Linked DNA regions of Homo sapiens: all the other regions are linked to region 2. The links are contacts of gene promoters, found by promoter capture Hi-C in blood cells and fetal thymus (Javierre and others, 2016). All regions are on one chromosome and are shown on one strand. The core of a region is centred on a gene start or on the middle of the fragment in contact, and the rest is flanking DNA. Distances in the headings are between cores, read along the strand shown. Region 1 holds the start of SLC4A5 (solute carrier family 4 member 5). Region 2 holds the start of MTHFD2 (methylenetetrahydrofolate dehydrogenase (NADP+ dependent) 2, methenyltetrahydrofolate cyclohydrolase). Region 3 overlaps TET3 (tet methylcytosine dioxygenase 3).

Evidence for each region. Contacts are between HindIII fragments. The CHiCAGO score rates a contact against its expected background, and 5 or more counts as called.
Region 1: the fragment with the promoter of SLC4A5 here is called in contact with the fragment with the promoter of MTHFD2 in region 2 in 1 of 17 cell types (naive CD4 T cells); the score reaches 6.0 in naive CD4 T cells.
Region 3: a contact is called between a fragment that was not itself captured here and the fragment with the promoter of MTHFD2 in region 2, in 1 of 17 cell types (activated CD4 T cells). The highest score is 5.4, in activated CD4 T cells.

What each region holds. Positions count from the first base shown.
Region 1 is chr2:74,342,157-74,344,856 of GRCh38, reverse strand. It overlaps SLC4A5 (solute carrier family 4 member 5), which reads left to right and starts at 1,441. Exons shown (of 31, transcript NM_133478.3): 1 at 1,441-1,501; 2 at 2,323-2,399. The HindIII fragment of the contact is 2,074 bases long and covers 1-2,043 here.
Region 2 is chr2:74,197,311-74,200,010 of GRCh38, reverse strand. MTHFD2 (methylenetetrahydrofolate dehydrogenase (NADP+ dependent) 2, methenyltetrahydrofolate cyclohydrolase) reads right to left here and starts at 1,396. Exons shown (of 8, transcript NM_006636.4): 1 at 1,269-1,396. The coding sequence starts at 1,369. RefSeq lists silencers at 638-727, 858-1,137, 1,328-1,467 and an enhancer at 1,176-1,734. The HindIII fragment of the contact is 3,357 bases long and covers 1-2,700 here.
Region 3 is chr2:74,059,752-74,062,451 of GRCh38, reverse strand. All of the region lies in intron 4 of TET3 (tet methylcytosine dioxygenase 3), which reads right to left. Among named protein-coding and RNA genes, the nearest start is that of TET3, 76 kb to the right of the region's middle. The HindIII fragment of the contact is 6,470 bases long and covers 1-2,700 here.

The DNA.
Region 1 (2,700 bases), core at 192-2,691, 140 kb before region 2:
CATGAACATTTGTGGAACAAGGTAATCCTCCAAACAAGGGTGATTTTTCTTTCACTGAACCCTTCCCTCCCTTTGTGCTTCTTTTTGGAGCCTCACACTCTTCTGAATTTGTTGAATCCCCAACCAGCTGGAAATTCCCTAAGGCCCGAAACTGTTTCTGGCCTAGGCTGTGCTGATCTTCCTGGGACTAAGGGGTTTCCTGGGTCACAGATCTTCTGTGCTAAAACCAGGAAAGCCTCTGGTGACCCAGCATGTGTTGATCTCCCTAGTCTTGCCTGTCTTTGATTCCATGGATTATTAACAGAAACTATAATGTTGGGTTAATGTGTTGGCTTGGGCATGGCCTCCGAAACATGTTTTTTACATGTCTGCCACCAGCAGGCTCTAGATCCAGGAATGAGGCTTTTCCACTAAGGGAAAACTCCACGTGATCTAGGAAGAAAGTGAGGATATCCAACCAGATGATAAATTTCCTATCTGAAAGAGAAGGTCAACCCTGAAATAAGGAGGCTGAAGACCCTTAGAGAAGCCACAGAAGAGACTGGAAGAAGAGGGGTAGAGTTGCTTTTTTAATGGGGCTTCCAGCTCCTACTTTTCTTCCTGTCTGTAAGTCTCTGAGCTTCTGTTCCAGCTCTGTAAGGTTGGGGACGAGAATGCTCTCCCCACTGGACTGTTGAGAGTTCAATGAGGGGAAATGTGTGCATATACCAGGCCCCATGCTGGGTGCCCAGAGACGCTGCGCCTTCCTGGCATGCTTCTCTTCCCCATCGCTCAGCACCGCGTCCCTCACTCCCTCCACTCCCGATTCTCACTTCCTACTCACTGGCTTCTTCCTTCCCATCTTCCTCCAAACTTCCCATTTTCCACTATGTCTCTCTCACCGTATCTTTTTCACTTAAACAAAAATGGAATTCATAAAAACAGAGGCCAAAAGTCAGGATAAACCTGGAAAAATCACCAAGTACGCAAAGTTTTTCTTGCAAGGTTTGGTTTTTTCAAATGCCTTCTTTGTTTTCCTTGCCCATATCCTTCTTCGGAGAGTCAGGATTTGGGGTTTGCAGAGCTGTGTGGCAGTGGAATGTGGAATGTTCTCCTGAATCTCAGTCCCATGAAGAAAAGAGGCAAAAGTCCTGACATCTTTCCTGAGGATTGTCTGATTTAAAAGAGCTGATTCTCCCCAGGCAAATGACTTACCTTTGTTGTGCTGGGACAAGCTGAACAGGCAAGGAATAAACCTCCCTAGAACACACTGATTAGATTAGCCAGTGAGAACCACTGAAGACGCAGACATTAGATTAAAAAACAGAAAAATGAATGTTACTTTTACAGTGGCTATGAATAGACAAAGACTTTTTGGTTTGAAAATAGTTGGTGAGGCAATAGAGGAGGGGCTATGTTAATAGCAGAGATAGAAAAAACGAGAGGTGGATGGTTCCAACTGCAAGGTCCACCCTAAAGGAATTGGAGTCAGGGCCCAGGAGCCACAGGCCACTGCACTGGGGTAAGTAGAGTGGATTTTACATAAATAAAGTTACAGAGTGGTTGTAGGTTCTGGTTTGGAGATGTGAGTGAACCAACTGAATAGAATAGGCAGATTCCCCAGCCCACCAAGAGTCAGATGAGAATTTTATTGCTTTTTGCTAAAGGCCTGTACAAGACTTAGAGCAAAGATAAGGAGTAACCTGATTGTTGAAACTAATCTATAAGTATTCCAACATAGCAAAGGACAAGTAACGGAATGACGAGGTTTTCCTGTAGTAGTGTTGCGATTTTGTTCTGCTGTGTCCCCCTACTCCAGTTTCCTCTGTGAGGGGAGCGTGTAGTGTGTGCATATCTGTGGAATGTCAGACTTCTAAAGTCAGGGGCTGAGACCTATATCTAGTTAGACCTCTGTGCATATTCTTGAGCCATGGGAGTCTCAGTGGTTGATAGTACTTCACACTTCTTCCAGTTCAATAAGGGTTACCTATGGTGTCTCCTCTGAGTCTCCTAGGAGTCCAGAAAACATGAGACTTGTATAAGAATCCACACTTCAACTAAGCTTTCTGGCCCAAAGAAGGCATTGTTACCAAGGATCTGTTTCTTGAGGTCTTTAGGGAGTGAGAGGGAAGGAACGCATGAGGAACCAGAGCTAGTCCCCATCTCTCTCCCTAGAAGTGACAGACTGCATAGCTCTTATGTATCAGGAGTCCTGGAGATCAGCTGGCTTTCCTTAAAAAAGGGTCATCCAGCCGTGATGAAATCCTGACTTAGAAACCCAGTGCCCTTAGCTTTGTGGGCTTCTGTCCCTGAGAAATGGTGTTTTACCCTCCCTCCAAGCAGGCATCCCAGGATTTGGAATTCAGCTGTGAGCTCATGAGCTGATGGATGTTTCCAGGAGTACCCTGAAGACCACCCAGGTATGCTCTCCCCACCTCCTTTATTTTGGATGGACCAGTCTAAGGAGAGTCATCTTTTCCCACACCATTGGTGGCACTCAGTGAGTGGCTTGTTGCTTGACTGAATGCCTGCCCACACCCTCTCCAGTCAAGTTTATCTTGAGTAACTAAACACTTAGCAATGGAGACACTCATACATCTCCACTGCACTAGAAGTAGGGATGGTGGCCATGCCAACAAAGGAGATAACTTTAGCACAAAGGATGTCACAAGAAACAGATAGTAGAGTGTGTTCTCCAGTGTTATCATTTCCCAAACCAGA
Region 2 (2,700 bases), core at 147-2,646:
AACATGAGCTCCATTAAGAACAGTTTTTCTCATCTTTGAATTCGCACAGCTTGGCATAGTGTCTGGTACACAGTGAACGTTAGATGAAAAAAAGAAGGGGCTGATGTTGTAAGGTGCAGGGCTCTAACAATGCCAACAATGCCAGCGCTCTAATGACCGACCAAATCACCTTCCCAAGGAAACCCAAAAATGCAAACAGAGCTTTTCCTTTCCTCCTCCCCTGTATATTTTTCCCAATTTTGTTATTGTGGTAAAATTCACATAACATAAACCTTATCAACTTTTTTTTTTTTTTTTTTTTTTGAGACAGGGTCTCGCTCTGTCGCCCAGACTGGAGGGCAGTGGTGCAATCACGGCTCACTGCAGCCTCGAACTCCTGGGCTCAAGCGATTCTCGTGCCTCAGCCTCGGCGCGTGTCACCACGCCCGGCCCATCTTAACCATTTTTAAGTGCAGTTCAGTGGTATTAAATACGTTCATATGTTGTGCAACCATCACCACCATCCATCTTCAGAACTCTTCATCTTGTAAAACTGAAATTCTGCAAGTACCGCTGAAATATGGGTACTTGTCACTCTCCATTCCCCCTTTCCCTAAGGCCCTGGGAGCCTCCCGGATGTTTGCCACCTCTATGTACGCAGCCCGGCACTGACAGGCTCTGGTGGGCTGCAGCCAAAGCTAGGGTGCCCAGAGTCCGTTCATGTTCCTGGCAGAGCGGAGGCAGCGCGGGCCACTCCCACCGGCGGAGGGAGGAGGGCGGCGCGGGGACCCCGAGCAAGTCGGCTCCGCGATTTCATCAGCTGCAGCAGCGCCCTCCGCCGCTAGGGTCCCCGCAAGGACAACTCGCCGAGGGCTGCTCTTTTGGAACCCTCGCCTGTTCTCCCCCAGACGACTCTCAGCATCCCAGCCAGAGGCGGCCGGCGCTGTCGGAAGGCTCCGCGTAAACTGATGCCTTCGCGTTCCGCACGCCACCCCCGTCCCGCCCGCCGACTGGCCACGGGCCCCGGCGACGCCCCGAGTCGCAGGAGAGCGGCTCCCTCCGAAAGGCGGGCTTCGGGTACCAGCCCTCCGCGCCGAGGAAGCGCCCCAGTCGAGAGCTGCGGCGGCGCTCGGTGCCACGTCGCCCCGCCACACCCCTCAGCGGCCACCACCGCCGGGGCGGAGATGTTCGGGAAGGACTTCCCTCGGTGTCCCTCGGGGGCCCGGCGTGCCCCTCGCCCTCCGTTCCCCTCAGCTTTCCGCGCTGACCGAGCTCTGTGACCCTCTTACCGAACTGCCGCGAGGTGGAAAGGGCGAAGGCGAAGGGAGCAGCTGTGCGCGGGCTGCAGCAGCCGGGCAGCCAAAGCAGACATTAGAGAAGTCGCAGCCATAGACCGCGCCGGTGACTGCGCCGGGAGGGAAGCGCGCGCGCGGGCCACGCGGTTATACTGCGGCCTCGTGGCAGGCCCCGCCTCCCTCCGCCACCCATTGGTCCCTGCCGCATGCCACTGGCTGTCTGTTGAGCCAGGTGGAGCCGAAGGGGCCAACCGGTTTTCTTTATTAAACGTAAGCGAAGTCCGAAAGAGCCCTGCTTTTGATTGGAGCCAGAAGAGCCTGGAGCGAGGTCCTGTAAGGCGCTGAAGCCTCGGCAACGTGCCATGATAGGCTGAGGAAGTCAAACTCCTGCCTGACGCCGCTAGTGTCACCGAAGGCCGGACAACACAAGAGAAAAGTTCATTCATTCATTCGTTGAACAATTATATGAGCGCCTACTGTGTGCCAAGCACTGTAAAGGGTGGATGAAAAGACAAGCTGATAGAATGCCAACGAACAGAAGTAAAAGGAATGATGGAGTTAGAAAATCACCATTTTCCAAAATCAGTACATGGTGGCGCGTGACTACAGTACCAGCTACTGGGGAGGCTGAGGTGGAAGGATCACCTGAGTTCAGGAGGTTGAGGCTGCAGTGAGCTGAAGGCGCGCCACTGCACTCCAGCCTGGGCGACGAGAGTGAGACCATATCTCAAAACAACAACAAAAAAAGTAAAATCATAAAAGATATTCAGAGACAGACGTCAGGGTTGCATGTGCAACCCTGATTCAGAAGCAGCAATAGATGTCAAAACAACTGGGTGAAAGTTGGATGAGGAGCAAGATATTTACATATAGGGTTGCCAGATCTAGCAAATAAAAACACAAGATGCCCAATCAAATCAGAATTTTAGATAAACACTTTGGGAGGTCATATTTATACTTTATTTATGGCTTATCTGGAATTCAGATTCAACTGGGCTTCCTGTATTTTTTCCCGCAAACTTTTTGCATAGTCTCAAAGTATCTCTCCCGCAAGGAAACTTAAGGAGGGCAGGGCGCGGTGGCTCACTTCTGTAATCCCCAGCTCTTTGGGAGGCCAAGGCGGACGGATCACCTGAGGCCAGGAGTTCGAGACCAGCCTGGCCAATGTGTTGAAACCCCCGTCTCTACTAAAAACACAAAAAATTATCTGAGCATCGTGGCGGACGCTGTAATCCCAGCTACTGGGGAGACTGAGGCATGAGAATCGCTTGAATCTGGGAGGCAGAGGTTGCAGGGAGCCGAGACTGTGCCACTGCACTTCAGCCTGGGCAACAAAAAGACTCTGTCTCAAAAAACAAAACAAACAAACAAAGAACAGGGGAAACCAATCCTGTCAACACCTTGACCTTTACTTCTAGCCTCCAGG
Region 3 (2,700 bases), core at 51-2,550, 140 kb after region 2:
TTAAGTAGAGTTTAAGTAAATATCTTTTGTTTTAGAAAAATAACTGTCATTTAAAGTTAGACTTTACATTTGAACAGATTTAGTGTTCATCGCCAGCCTCTCCATACTACAACTTCCCCATCTATTATTATTTTGATTCATCTCTAGAAAATTTGAGTTCTTGCATATTTAAAAATGTTTTTATGGATTTTTTTTGGTGGAGACGGGGTTTCGCTGTGTTGGCCGGGCTGGTCTCCAGCTCCTAACCGCGAGTGATCCGCCAGCCTCGGCCTCCCGAGGTGCCGGGATTGCAGACGGAGTCTGGTTCACTCAGTGCTCAATGGTGCCCAGGCTGGAGTGCAGTGGCGTGCTCTCGGCTCGCTACAACCTCCACCTCCCAGCCACCTGCCTTGGCCTCCCAAAGTGCCGAGACTGCAGCCTCTGCCCGGCCGCCACCCCGTCTGGGAAGTGAGGAGCGTCTCTGCCTGGTCGCCCATTGTCTGGGACGTGAGGAGCCCCTCTGCCTGGCTGCCCAGTCTGGAAAGTGAGGAGCATCTCTGCCCGGCCGCCATCCCATCTAGGAAGTGAGGAGCGCCTCTTCCCGGCCGCCATCCCATGTAGGAAGTGAGGAGCGTCTCTGCCCGGCCGCCCATCGTCTGAGATGTGAGGAGCGCCTCTACCCGGCCGCGACCCCGTCTGGGAGGTGAGGAGCGTCTCTGCCCGGCCGCCCCGTCTGAGAAGTGAGGAGCCCCTCCGCCCGGCAGCTGCCCCGTCTGAGAAGTGAGGAGCCCCTCCGCCCGGCAGCCACCCCGTCTGGGAAGTGAGGAGCGTCTCTGCCTGACAGCCACCCCGTCTGGGAGGGAGGTGGGGGGGGTCAGCCCCCCGCCCGGCCAGCCGCCCCGTCCGGGAGGTGAGGGGCGCCTCTGCCCGGCCGCCCCTACTGGGAAGTGAGGAGCCCCTCTGCCCAGCCAGCCGCCCCGTCCGGGAAGGAGGTGGGGGGGTCAGTCCCCCGCCCTGCCAGCCGCCCCGTCCGGGAGGGAGGTGGGGGGGTCAGCCCCCCGCCCTGCCAGCCGCCCCGTCCGGGAGGGAGGTGGGGGGGTCAGCCCCCCACCCGGCCAGCCGCCCCGTCCGGGAGGTGAGGGGCGCCTCTGCCCGGCCGCCCCTACTGGGAAGTGAGGAGCCCCTCTGCCTGGCCAGCCGCCCCATCCGGGAGGGAAGTGGGGGGGTCAGCCCCCCGCCCGGCCAGCCACCCCGTCCGGGAGGGAGGTGGGGGGGTCAGCCCCCCGCCCGGCCGGCCGCCCCGTCCGGGAGGGAAGTGGGGGGGGTCAGCCCCCCGCCCGGCCGGCCGCCCCGTCCGGTAGGTGAGGGGCGCCTCTGCCCGGCCGCCCCTACTGGGAAGTGAGGAGCCCCTCTGCCCGGCCACCACCCCGTCTGGGAGGTGTGCCCAACAGCTCATTGAGAACGGGCCATGATGACAGTGGCGGTTTTGTGGAATAGAAAGGGGGGAAAGGTGGGGAAAAGATTGAGAAATCGGATGGTTGCTGTGTCTGTGTAGAAAGAGGTAGACATGGGAGACTTTTCACTTTGTTCTGTACTAAGAAAAATACTTATCCTGTTGATCTGTGACCTTACCCCCAACCCTGTGCTCTCTGAAACATGTGCTATGTCCACTCAGGGTTAAATGGATTAAGGGCGGTGCAAGATGTGCTTTGTTAAACAGATGCTTGAAGGCAGCATGCTCGCTAAGAGTCATCACCACTCCCTAATCTCAAGTACCCAGGGACACAAACACTGCGGAAGGCCGCAGGGTCCTCTGCCTAGGAAAACCAGAGACCTTTGTTCACTTGTTTATCTGCTGACCTTCCCTCCACTATTGTCCTATGACCCTGCCAAATCCCCCTCTGCGAGAAACACCCAAGAATGATCAATAAAAAAAAATAATAATAAATTTAAAAAAAAATGTTTTTATGAAGACTTTACATATGGATGGTGACTTAAGTAAGTCGAACTTGGATCAAACTTTTTAATCTCAATACTCTACTCTGAGAACTGCAATACACGTATCCAGCTAAGAACCCATATATCCAAAATAAAGAACCCTTACCACTCAATAAGAAAAACAATACAGAAATGGGCTTGAACAGCAACTTGAATGACTTGAACCGGAACTTGAACAGAAATGACTTGAACAGGAACTCCACAAAAGACGGCATATGAAAAACTGCTCACCCTCATTAGGCATCAGGGAAATTCAAATTAAACCCACAGTGAGATACTATTATACATCTACCACAATGGCAAAGACTGGATGGCACCATTTGCTGGTGAGAACGTGGAGCAATGCTGGTGGGAGCTTAAACTGTAACAACCACTTTGAAAGACCAATGGTACCTACTAAAGCTCAACACACACAATTTCAGTCCTAGGTAAATACCTAAGTATACACATGTATACATAAATGCACCAAGAGACAGGTATAAGAATGTCTTATATCAGCATGATTCATAATAACCCCAAGTTGGAAACAACCCAAAAGACCATCAGTGACCTACTGGATACACTGTGGTGTATTCAAAAAATGGAATGCTGTACAGCTATGAGAATGAACGACGGGGCAGATAACAAATGTACATACATACAGATAACACAGGGCCAGGCATGGTGGCTCACACCTGCAATCCCAGCATGCTGAGAGGCCAAGGTGGGAGACTAGCCTGGGCA